Linked DNA regions of Homo sapiens: region 2 is linked to region 1. The links are contacts of gene promoters, found by promoter capture Hi-C in human tissues and cell types (Jung and others, 2019). All regions are on one chromosome and are shown on one strand. The core of a region is centred on a gene start or on the middle of the fragment in contact, and the rest is flanking DNA. Distances in the headings are between cores, read along the strand shown. Region 1 holds the start of SREK1 (splicing regulatory glutamic acid and lysine rich protein 1). Region 2 holds the start of LOC124900989 (a long non-coding RNA gene).

What was found. Contacts are between HindIII fragments. The study calls those that stand out against the background at their distance.
Region 2: a contact is called between a fragment that was not itself captured here and the fragment with the promoter of SREK1 in region 1, in 1 of the 25 tissues and cell types used here (hippocampus).

The regions. Positions count from the first base shown.
Region 1 is chr5:66,141,304-66,148,013 of GRCh38, reverse strand. SREK1 (splicing regulatory glutamic acid and lysine rich protein 1) reads right to left here and starts at 3,714. Exons shown (of 12, transcript NM_001077199.3): 1 at 3,477-3,714. The coding sequence starts at 3,637. RefSeq lists enhancers at 2,974-3,023, 3,084-3,143, 3,404-3,683 and a silencer at 3,864-3,933. The HindIII fragment of the contact is 17,400 bases long and covers 1,553-6,710 here.
Region 2 is chr5:67,361,072-67,367,059 of GRCh38, reverse strand. It overlaps LOC124900989 (a long non-coding RNA gene), which reads left to right and starts at 757. Exons shown (of 2, transcript XR_007058799.1): 1 at 757-1,006. The HindIII fragment of the contact is 4,893 bases long and covers 1-4,199 here.

The DNA of each region.
Region 1 (6,710 bases), core at 2,465-4,964:
ATCCAACAATAGAATTTCAAAAACACACAATACACTCAGAAATTACTAATCTCTAAATATTACTATAAATAAGACAGCAATATGGAAAATGCTTATGACAAAGTGAAAAAAGTAAAATAACAGTGTGATTCCTTTGATTACGCTATATTACATATATTACATAATGATAGCACTATACAATTATTTTTAAAACCAATGAGGTAATATGTCCAATATTTATTAACGCATGTGAAAAGGACTACAGGGAAATGGAGAGAAGCTTTGATAGAGTGGTGGGATCACAAGTGCTGTTTCCTTTTCTCTATTTTCTATAAAGTGGCTTTAGTGGTTACATTTTTTTTAACTAAATAAACTTAAGTAGTTGACAGATTTTTCCATTCTTTCTTAGAACTTTAGAAGACCAGAGAAGTGACGGAAATCAACAAGCAAAAAAAATCAACACAGGAAAAATGTCTAGTGTTACAAATCAGGGTAGGCTTACCCTTCAGGTTTTAGTTACTTGAAGGGGGTCACGGGGAACTTACAGGGTGCAGATAATCCTGACTGTGTGCTGGTTATATAGGTATGTTTACTTTGTAAAGATTCATCAACCTGCGCTTACGACCTGTGCACTTCTCTGTAGGTACATTAAACCTCAATGAAAAATTTACTGAAAAAACAACAAGGATTTCTTACTTGTGTAAGAAAGTTTCACAAGCTGTGAGATTGATTTATTGTGCAAAAAGTTAATAGTAATTCTACATATTTATCAACTGGCAGCACAAAAAAAGGATGACAAACTACAAATAAGAATTCTTAATGCTTACAGTGAATGTTCACAAGAATTCCCTAGCCTTAAAAAATTCTTAACGTTTAAAAGATAAAGATGAAACTCAACCACTGCATCATGCCAAAAGAATTAAATTTAAAATCTGAATTTTCATATTAGCAACTTAAGTCATTTAAGTCATTTTTTTTTAAGAGATAGGGGTCTCAATATGTTACTCAGGTTGGAATCAAACTCCTGGGCTCAAGCTGTTCTCCCACCTCAGCCTCCTGAGTAGCTAGGACTATAGGTGCACACCACCACACCTGGCTCAATCATAAAATTTTAATGAGAAACTATTTTCACATTCTATTAATGTATTTCCAATATACCTGGAAATATGTATTTGAAAATAAATATATTTCCAATTTTAAAACAATTTAAATTTCTACTCAACTCTAAAGATGTCATAAAATAATTTATGTGACACTGCAAAACAATATATTTTCAATACAACTACTACTATTGCATTTTGTATCCATTTCAGTCCAAATTTGCAAACACGTCTTCTAATATAAGGACCAGGCAATGACAACTTCATTACGAAGCAGAAAACCTGTGAATAAAGCATGTCAGTATTGCTGCAAAACATGAATGAGGGATCTAGTATTGCACTTAGGGAAAAACTAGTTAAGGATTTTGCCTGGCCTATATATATTACACGTATGCAACAATTTTGCTTAATGTGTTACAGTTTGTGAAATACACTACCGTAATCTTCCATATGTTTAAGTGAAGAACTTTTTATTCTCTTTGACTTTTAAATTCCAAGTAATAACATCTGATTTCAAAAAAGTGGCCCATTACTGTCAGTTATGGCAATGTGTTGTCACCCAAACCCAGGTTTCAACCAAATAAATATTATGTTGATAATGAAGAACATTCTCCAATATATTTCTTCTACCTATGAGATACCTTATTACCACAGCCTTGAAAGCAAGATTTACAAAGGTTCATGTACAAAGTATTTTACTGATTGATTCCAATGCCTGCAGGATACGGCACTCCCCCAAACAATTCTCAATTATTCTCAACTATTAAGAAATGTTCTGAGAACTTAAATTGAGATGGCTGAAAGCATTTCCAAAAGTTAAGATAATTAAAGCAATAATGCCACGGTTAATCAATCAAAATGTACGTGCGTGCACTTATGCAGTATTCTCGTCAAAAATGTATTACCTGAATCTCGTCACGAATATAAAGATATATATATACACATATCTCTATATACCTCATCTATATATCTCATCTATATAAACTCAGATTATGAGTCATATTACAAGACAAAATGAACTACAAAACAAAATATCAATGTCACGACTTTAGAATCTTTAAAAGGGGACGGGACTGTCCTAGATTAAAGGAGATAACTATTAATACATGGATTACTTGGCATATTCAAGGGAGACAGTGTTATCTAATTACATACTAGATCAAAAGCAGACAAAAAAGCATTATTAAAATAACTGGGGAAATTTTAATAATCAACTGTAGCCAAAAACAGACAAAATGCTCGTAAAAGGAACATGGATGTTCAATGTATTACTCTTTCAACTTTTCTGTATGCATGAAATATTCCAAAACAAAAAGCAGAGAAGAAAAACTTAAAAAGTAAATTTTAAATATCCACACAACTTTTATATAGTTATGCAACAGCACTGTTATAACCTGAGATAGAAAACTAAAGAAAAATAGGTCTAAATGCATCACTAGGAAATAAATCAAAATTTTTTTAAAGAAATAAATCTTGGGTAACAATTACCCCTTCCCTCAAAGGATTTTGATATAATGAACAAAAAACGGAGGATCTTAATACTGTAAGATCTACCATTAAAAAAGAAAAAAAGTTTGTGTGCAAGAATGTGAACAACCTACAAACCCCTTGCGAGTTTTCTAAATAATATCGTACGAGGGAAATTTTACCATTCCAAAATACACTATCTGGGAAGTGGCCGCGAGCTGTGAATGCCAGCCAAGATCTGGACTTTAAATGTATACGGGAGGGATAACCCTGCACCGACTTACACTTTTTCTGAAAGCTTTGGGACAGTGTGACCTTTCAGGAGGAAAATTTAATCTGCTGTCAAAAGGGCTAACAGACATGATCTTTGGGAACATGGATGCGCTCGGTTAGATAAACCAAAATGCTAAGTTTGTGCGACCGTCCTGGGAAACAAACACAGCCCCAGTTCCATCTTGTCACCAGCAGCAGGCTTTCTCGTCAGCAAAACGGCCTGACACCAAGGCCTTAAAAACTGGACTGTGGCTCAGGCGCGGTCTCCGCGATTTTCAGAGTGGAAAAACGCTCTGAGACGTTTGCCATGAGGGCTGTTCCGGGCCCACCTGCGGCCATCTTAAGTTCGGGGGGAAATAAGAGGGTGGGGGCACGGAATTCGAAGACCCAGCAGCGAACACAAGTCCCGGAGGCACAGAAAGGGCAACCATTCTAAATCCTTGGTAAGGGCTCCGTGCAGTAGTTAACCCCCCAAATCCGACTAAGGAGAGCAGGACGGCGGAACCCGGGTGCCCTAATCAAATATGGGCACCAAGGTAAGCCGGCGCGATCACGTGACATGCACCGCGCGCCCGCGTCCGCGCTCTCCTCCACGCCTCGGCTCCCGAGGTCTCTATGGCGCCCGCGCCCCTCCCCCAGCCGAGCTCCAGCACTTACTCCGGGGGGTAGAGCCGCAGCTCCTCGATTTCTCCTAGGAAGGAAAAAAGCGTCCGCATCTGCTCGCTGGTCACCGCCGACGACAGATTCGTCACCTGAATCACCGACGTGGGGGTGAGGCCGAAGCCTAAGCCCAAACCGAAGCCGCCGCCGCTGTTCATCCCGATCCCGCTGCCGTTGCCTTCCCGCTCCCCAACGTCTACGACGCGTCAGCGACGGAGCCGGGAAAGCGGAGAACGCGCGGCCGCGAGCGCGCTCCCGCTGGCGAATTCACAGCGCCGGGCAGATCTAGCCGCCCATTTCACAACTCCCCTGCTCCCGGGGCTGCGCGCGCCAGCCGGAAGCGTCGCCCCGGCAACCCGGCGGTTCTCGCGCGGCTGCGGCCTCCAGCTCCCGGGTCCCTGGGGCTGTTGCTGCTCGTTTCACCGCCTGGATTTTTATCGGTGTTTTTGTTTTCCCCAAAAGTCGATGAGAGTCTTGTGCTCATGTCTACCCGGTTCCTTCCGGTCTCGGATTGGGAAACCAAGCGGCCTGGCCTACTGGTGCGGGACTGTAAAGAAGGAATGACTCTTGGACAACACGGAAGAACACTTGACCAAACTATAGGGCAGCCTTATCACATACAGGCAGCACCCCAACTCCAACTATTTTTAAAAGTTGGCAGGCGTCCTAATTGTGAAAAAAACAAAATTTTACAAAATGCGTAGGTTCAGGTTGAATTAAGGAAAGAGGCAGTAAGATGAAGGCTGTGCAGGGGTTGTTTATAACCTGTTTTTAATTCCCTCGTTCCACAGGTGTTGATGTTTATTGAGTGCTATGTCCCAGGCACTATTAGGCAAGGGCACGTAACAGACAGTTAAAGACAGTTCACATAGAACTTGCAACCTAATGAGAGACAACAGTAGTGAGTCCATGGCAGCTGCTCCCAAAATGCCCTCCGCAGATCCCTAAGGGTACCGAGACCTTTTCAGTAAGTTGGCAAGGTCAAAACGATTTTCGTAATAATATTAAGAGTTTCTTGACCTTTTTCACTTTGTTGCCATTTGCACTGGTAACGTAAAAGATTAAACTGCTGACACCTTAGCAGCAATCAAGGCAGTGGCGCCAGTCTTGTACTGGTAGTTGCATTTTGTATTCTTCACATCATACAACATTTAAGGTTTTAAAGTATGCTAGTTTCACTTTAAAAATGTCCTTCACAAATAACTAAAAATTGTATTTTTTTTTCAAATCCATCCTTGCTTACACGTCTTTTAAAGAATATGTGTGAAAAAATGGAAACTACTGCCGCTACATGCCCAAGTGAAATGGTTGTCTCCGGAAAAAGCACTAGTGTAATTCTTTGAATTTTCACCTAAAAATACAAATTTTATTACACTTGTATCCACCAGCTTGAGCTTGACAGCTTGCCAGTACTTAAAGACTTTTCTAGTAAAAGAAGCATTATATTAACAATTTATTTTTGACTATATAATGAAATATGTCAACATTTTTGTGATCTTTACAACTTAGTGGACACCTATTTTTCAAATGGCCAGTGGGTGCCATTACAAAGGCAAAAAGCCTCTGGTATGTGCAAGATAGATTGATGGATTTCAGTGCTTAATTGATGTGGTTTCAGATTCAGTCCACACTGCAATGAAGGCTAAGAAACTACCACATGTAAGTTTGGTACCGTATCAAAGAATAATATCTAGAACTATCTGGAAAGGCTATAAAGTAGTTTTCCCTTTTCCAACACCTTATCTTTATGAGATCAGATTTCCCTCATATATTTCAACCAAAACATATCACAACAGATCGAATACACAGAAAACTCATGATCACAAAGAAGGAAACGTCAGTCACTGTGGTCTACTTGAGGGTGGAGGGTGGAAGGAGGGAGAGGAGCAGAAAAAATTATTGAGCACTGGGCTTAATACCTGGATGATGAAATAATCTGTACAACAAACCCCCATGACATGAATTTATCTATGTAACAAACCTTCACATGTACCCCTGGACCTACAATAAAAGTTGGAAAAAAATAAAGAATACATAGATAGGAGAATTCAGCTGTCTTCTATTAAAGCAGACATTAAAAAGGTTTGAAAAATGTAAAACAATGCCACTCTTCTCACCAATTTTTTGGAAAAATATTTTATCATAAAAATGCATCATTTTGCCTTCAATCTCGGTTTCTAAGAAAAAAATGCGTCATTTCTATTAACATAATGGGCTTATAATTATTTTTAAATGAATCTCAAAATACCAAATTTCTCAGGTTTAATTTATAATGTGGATAGTAATAAAAGCATTTTACAGTCCTTAATAATCTTTAAGAATGTAAAGGGACTCAAGACCAAAATGTTTGAGAATTATTATTACCATAGGTATAAGCATGGAGGAATTCAGAGCACACAGGAGGGCCTCTTAAACTTAGTTCTAATGGAATACTTCCCAGAAGAAATATTGCTTAAGCTGAATATTGAACAAATAGGAATTACCCAGGCAAGGAGGGAAGGAGGAGCAGTGAAGGGCATTCCAGACTGAGCATGTAGAATATGCAAAGGCAGGGTTAAGGTAAAAGAGAGCTCGAGTGAGGTACAGAAGATTCAAAGTCTGTTATTGCTGGGCTGAAAATGACTAGAGATGCATGCAAAGGAATAAGCCTTTATGAAGGGTATTATTTGTCATGGTAGAGATTACTTTATCATAAGCTGGGAGCCACTGAAGACCTCGGAGCTGAAGAGTGACCCTGATCAGATTCATGTTCTAAAATGACTGGCTATGTGCGGTGGCATATGCCTGTAATCCCAGGATTTGGGGAGACTAGGGCAGGAGGATTGCTTGAGCCCAGAAGTTTGAGACCAGCCTGGGCAACATGGAGAGACCCCGTTTCTACCAAACAATAACAACAAAAAAGTAGCCAGGCATGGTGGTGCATGCTTGTAGTCCCAGCTACTGGGGAGGCTGAGACGGGAGGACTGCTTGAGCCTGGGGGTTCGAGGCTACAGTGAAAATGAGTTGTGATTGTGCCACTGCACTCCAGCCTGAGTGACAGAGTAAGACCCTGTCTCAAAAAAGAAAGGAAGGAAGGAAGGAAAGAAAGAAAGTGATGACTGTCACTGCAACCTGGAGATACATTGGAAAGGGTTCAGACTAGAGGCAAAGAAACTGGGTAGGTTATTGCAATAATCTGAATAAGCTATAATGAGGTCATGAACAAAGGTAAGAGGTGGTAGTAATGGAAAG
Region 2 (5,988 bases), core at 504-3,003, 1.2 Mb before region 1:
AAAACAAAAGAAAATCTTCTTCAGAATTATCTATTTCTGGAAAAGTTAAGAGTTTCATTTATATTCTGAAAATGGGTGATTGCTTTGCCTGTTGTGAACCAGTTGTACTAAGGGTAGAAAGCATAAAGCTGAAAAATTTGTCCATCCAAGCCTTCCTTGAGCATCTGTGCTCAGTGATGAGGGTGCACAGATGAAATGGATGTATTTTCACTTCTCTAAGTGCTAAAATCTACTGGAAGATACAGACATATAAACAGATAATTATAGTACCATATAATAAGTGCTGTAAAGATATGTGAATACAGTGATATGGAAACCTAAAGGAGGGGAATATTTTTATATGTATCTGTGCATTGCTATTCTTCGCCATTACTGGCACTCTTTCTAGAAGCCTCATGAGAAGGAGACAAAAACAAAGAAGTTCTGAATCTGCATCTGGAAGTATCACACAGAGGGGAGGGCTTCGCTGTATTGGGGTTGAATAAGGTGCTGATAAGCCAAGTATTATTACCTGCGTGTGTAGAGCTTTGACTATTTCCAGCACGTCGCTGAGGACGGAGGCTTCTCAGTGGCGGTGCCAAGGAAACTGTTGGAGGTTGCCAGTCATTTTAGAGAAATGCCATGGAACGCAGCATGCCAGATGGCTACTGATGAAAGTGATGAAGGTTCACGCTTAGAAATGAAGTCCAATTCCATATTTGGTCCTTCTTTCCTTCCTTCTCTTTTGAAGGCATAAGACAGCACAAACTCAGCCTTATTCTACTCTTGCCCTACAAAATTGCCATCATCCTTTTCTCTTTTATAAAGTACTGGAGAGATACAGTCAAGTTACATCTGCTTCATTCCCAAAGGCTCAAAGGCTCCCCCGGCCCATCTCTCGCTGCACCAGGCCCTTTCTCTCTTGACCCTTCTTACTCCTCTTCTCACTCCTCCTTTGCCTGCCAGGAATCACTGTCAACAGAACCCACGGAGGGTCGGCTGCCTGCCGGGGACTAGTTTCTGTAAGGTAAGCTTTTCCCATCTCTACATCTCATGGAAGAAGAAAAAAGAAACGCTCCGCTGGAAATGTTTTATGATGACCCTCATTTGTAGAAGAAGTTCACCTTTCCTCTTTTGAGGATAACCATAACCTCCAGCCACGTTTCCTTTCTCTAACCAGTGCATGATATTAGGGTTAAATGCTTCTTCCTCACTCCCATTGTCCTGGTGGAGGGGACCCCACTGGGGTTACAATGCTGGTCTGGCTCCCCGCCCCCCACCCTGCCTTTTCGCACTCTCCTGGGGGAAGTGGAGTGGTAATGAGGTAATGGGGAGAATAAACACAGCCTGCTTCTCCCAGCACCTTGCTTCTTTCACACCAGGGGCCACGCCTCCACCGCTCCTCCTGTCAGGGCTTGGGTGGGTGAGTGTGCTTAGTCTTGGCTCAGCATCCCTAGGTCATCTAGTCACTAAGGTGACATTTCGATTCTCTGTTATTAGGTCCTCTCAAAGAACCCCCTGCAGGTAAGAAGTAGTCATATGAACTCCAAAAGTTAGCCTTCACTCTCTCTAAGCAGATTCATGTCAGACAAAACCTTATATCCATTTCTGCTTTTTGGCTTTGAGGTACAGGAGGCCTTACGAGGAGAAAAGGAAATGGCAGCACATTTCTCAGTCCGTCCTGAGGACTGTAAGAAGGGCTTAGATGAAACATAACAAGTTAAAAGAATTCCACATTTTGGTGGCTTTGATTCTTGTCCTTCAGAATGGGTTAAACACACACACACACACACACACACACACATTCTGACATTTGGAGGTTCTGAGCCTTGGGTCTCTCCCTTCCTCCCACCTAGCATGTCCTCATAACTATATCTCGAAAAGCTATTCTTAAAGCTTTCCAAGAAGTGTTCTCTCATCTACAGAGTAATGTCTCCTTCCTCTAGTTTTCCACTGTACTTGCTCTAACGGCATTTGAATGAATGAGTGAGTGAATAAATGAATGAATGTGTAATGACGAAAGAAATGGAATATCCTTTGCTTGCCCATCTACAGAAGAGAGATGGAGCCTTCCCTGTTCCTCTTCAGGGTTACTTTTCCTCTGCCACTTTAAGCTCCATCGAAATGCCTCAGGGGCTGCAAGAGTCCAGAGCTCTCCATAAAATAATCTAATAAAAACTGTGAAGAACAAGGCAGCTCAGAAAATGCAACTTCATTTTCATCACCCTGGACTTTGCTTTGCATTGCCTTGGACTCTTGGGTCAGCATAAGGTCTGTAACCTTTAGGGCCTGGAGCCTTTTTGTTTAGGCCAGGTAGCTCAGCTGCCCAGCCTGAGACCAGGTCTCCACTGGCACAGGATGGTGAGGCAGAGGGCAGTGTTCCAGACGATTCAGAAGAGCAGAAACTAAACTTGGCTTTTAAAAAAAGCCCGAGGAAAGCAATTTTGATGCCTGGATAATCACCCCAGTTGCTTAAAAAGCATGCCAGTGGAAACCTGTCCCAGGGGTTCCAAGCTTAGGAAATACAGTGATTGAAGCTCCATCCAGAAGGAGGGTAGCAAGGCAATTAAGCAGAGGAACAAGTGGGACCTTTGCCTGGAGCAACTTCTGTTCCATCAATTGAGGGAATTTACTTGCCCTCAAAGGAAGGTTATTTTAGCACCTGGCATCAGAATTCTCAATATATGAGCTTTGCAGTCTCCTTTGATCTGAAATTACTAGTTCCTGGATTATCAGGCAGTAACCAGGGAAGGGAACATGTTCTCTAGCTGCACTTGGCTCATTGGCTGTGATTAGCTCAGAGAGCTGCAGCCCCCACGTGGTTAACCTACTTCAAGTATAGGTTTACTCATCACAGCTTCCTTCTAAAAACTCAATTGGACAATATTTTGTCACCTTTAAGGTCAGACTATATCTATGCCATAGGTTACCTTCAGCTTCTCCCATCTTTCATCCCCCAGCCCTACAGTGATGTCCTCAGTGATATGGTGCCACCCAAAGAGGCCCAAGGTATTGTTTTGTTGTGTTTTGTTTTAGAAGGAGAAGGACTTTGGGTTTCTAGTTTCAAATCTCAGGGGTGTGACTCAAGTAATTTTACTTCTCAGTTTCCTCCTCTAAAAAACTAAAATTGCAAAACATAATCTCATACATTTGTTGAGGACCAAGTGAAACATTTTATGTCAAGGACCAGAACAGTGACTGGCATATCATAAATGCTCAATAGATAATTGCTCCCTTCCTCACTCTTTCCCCCAAGTAGGCCCTGGAGAGCTCTTCTGGACCAGAGGCTATGGTGGTGCACTCGTGATAGCCGATTGTTAAATCTTCAGGAATTGTGTGATCCAGTTGATCAGTTTGATATTGGCTGTGGTGGAAGCATTCACATCACAGAAATCAGCAAACACAGTAAGTCAGAGCTTCCATCCACTCACCCAGAGATTTGGTTCATCACCATAGCACCACGTAGTTAGATCACCTAGAACCTTTCTAGGTTTGTATTTCTAACAATTTGCATTTCTAAAAATGCAAATTAACCAGTCACACCCCAGACCTTCTGCATGGAAGAAATCTGTGTTTTAACAAAGCTTCTTAGTAAGTGTGCCTGATATGTTCAATGACTAGCAGGGAGATGAGTGTGGGAGGAGTGAAGTGAGCCAGACGAAGAATAGGAAGAGATATGGTCAAAGAAGAGATAGGGTGGTGGTAGGAGCAGGGAGTATCGTTGGCCATTGTAAGAATTTTCACTTATGTTCCAAGTGATAAGGAACCCACTGGAGGGTTTTGAGCAGAACGTAATGTCTTTTAAATCTCATTTAAAGGGATCACTCTGGTTGCTGTGTAAGGGTGATGAGAGACGACAGTGGCTCAGACTCAGATGATACAGAAATACATGGTGAAAAGTGGTTGGATTCCAGATATATTCTAGAGATAGAACTAATATAATGTGTTGATGGTTTAGATGTGGACAGTAATAAAAAGAGAGAAGTAAAGGATAATTCAAAATTTATTTAGTCTGAGAAGCTGGACAGATTTTTACTAAGATACAGAAAAGAAATAGGCTGATGGAAGGTGGAAGGTTGGTGATTAGGAAGTCAGTCCATTTTGAACATATTGGGTTTAGAAAGTCTATTAGAAATCAAGAGGAAATGTCAAGGAGGCCATTAGATATGAGCCTGGAGTTTGGAGGAGAAGTTGGGTTGAAGATTTACCTTTGGAAGTCACCAGCTTCCAGATGGTATTTGGTGACCTGTGATAAGATAGCTCAGTAAAAGAATCAGATAGAGAGAAGTGGATCCTAGCCCTGGAAAGCATGGAGATCTGGAAGATATGGACAAACTAGCAAAGGACACAGAGAAGGAGCAATCAGTGAGTATTAGTTCAATACATATTATGGTAGCAATCAGAGAGATGAAATAATATACTGCAAGTGGCTGTGTTACTTTAGTTGTGTGTCATTTCCTAGGGCCTCCTGTATAACTTAACTATGAGTGTGTAGTGTAGAGTTCACTCACAGCCTTCTGAATGAACGTACTGGATTCCGAAAGCAGTGTGGAGTTACATGTGAAGGCTGGCCCACTGAGCCAGTCTGTTCTCCCTTTACCCACTAAGATCCTGCAGGACTCTCTTCTCCCTAAGTAATAGAAGAGTCATTACCCCAAAGCTAATCGCAGCCATCAGCTGGCTCAGCAGATGAGGCTGACACTGTGCCTGTGTTTGTGAATGTTTTGGTTTATCAAAAAGAGCATGCAATTATCTTTAAAATATAATTCTCTGTCTTTAACATAAGCCAGAACTGTCAAACCTCCTTAGGCCCAGAGTGCTTTTACAAGGACAGTTTATTCAATTACCTTTTTAAGCTTTTAAAAGTCTGTGACTGACTCATTTGAGCAAGTGAGGAAAAAAGACAAAACATCAGTATCTCGCTGGAAAAATACTGTGGTTATTGGCACTGAAACAAAAATAACGCTCTGATCAAGGCATTGTGTTACTCAAATCAAGTGTATGCCTCACCTTTTTCATAAGAAATCTTCCTGCATTGGGAACTTCATGAGTCAGAATATTTGTGACCTACAGTGTGGCCTTGGACAAGTTCATCTCACTGTCATTTTCTTTTCAGGTAAAATGGGAACAATAATACCGACACAATAACACGTGTGTGGGAAGCACCCAACGCAGTGATATTCAATAACTCCTTTTCCATTGCCCTTAAAATATACACGGCCACAAGTGGCTTACATGTCTGTTCCACACTGAAAGAACTGCTGCCACTGCTGTCTGTCCTATCCCATCCCAACCATCCAGTCCCTCTCCAATCTGTAAGGCATGTACTTGGGATCTATTTTACCAAAGCAGGGCGTTCTGACTAAACTGTTTATTTGAAGAGAATATTAGGACATAGTCTCATCAAAACTACTATGAACAAAATGAAAAATGACTTTAAAAAATTGGCTTATGCCTGTAATCCTAGCACTTTGGGAGGCCGAGGTGGGCAGATTGCCTGAGCTCAGGAGTTCAAGACCAGCCCGGGCAACATGGTGAAACCCTGTGTCTACTAAAAACACAAAAAATTAGCAGGGCATGGTAGTACGTGCCTGTAGTCCCAGCTACTCAGGAGGCTGAGGCACATGAATTGCTTGAACCTGGGAGGCAGAGGTTGCAGTGAGTCAAGATTGTGCCACTGCACTCCAGCCTGGGCGACAGAGCGAGACTCTGTCTCAAAAAAAAAAAAAAAAAAAAAAAAAATTACAAAGTGATGTGCAAGGCAGGAAGGCAGACATTGCTGACCTTCTACTTTATCCATGATCCTCACCTCAACCCTAAACCCCTTTCTCAAGAGAAGGAGTGAGGATGGCTATTTCCCACATTCCTTGAGAGTTTTGCTAAACTGAAAATTTAATGCTCACTTTCATAACCTAGTTGAAACATATGGGTAAAGGTTCCTTTCAAAGTAACATGCACCCATCTTTGTGGTTGACAAGGAAGCTGGTGACAACCAAGTAAGGTATTCTC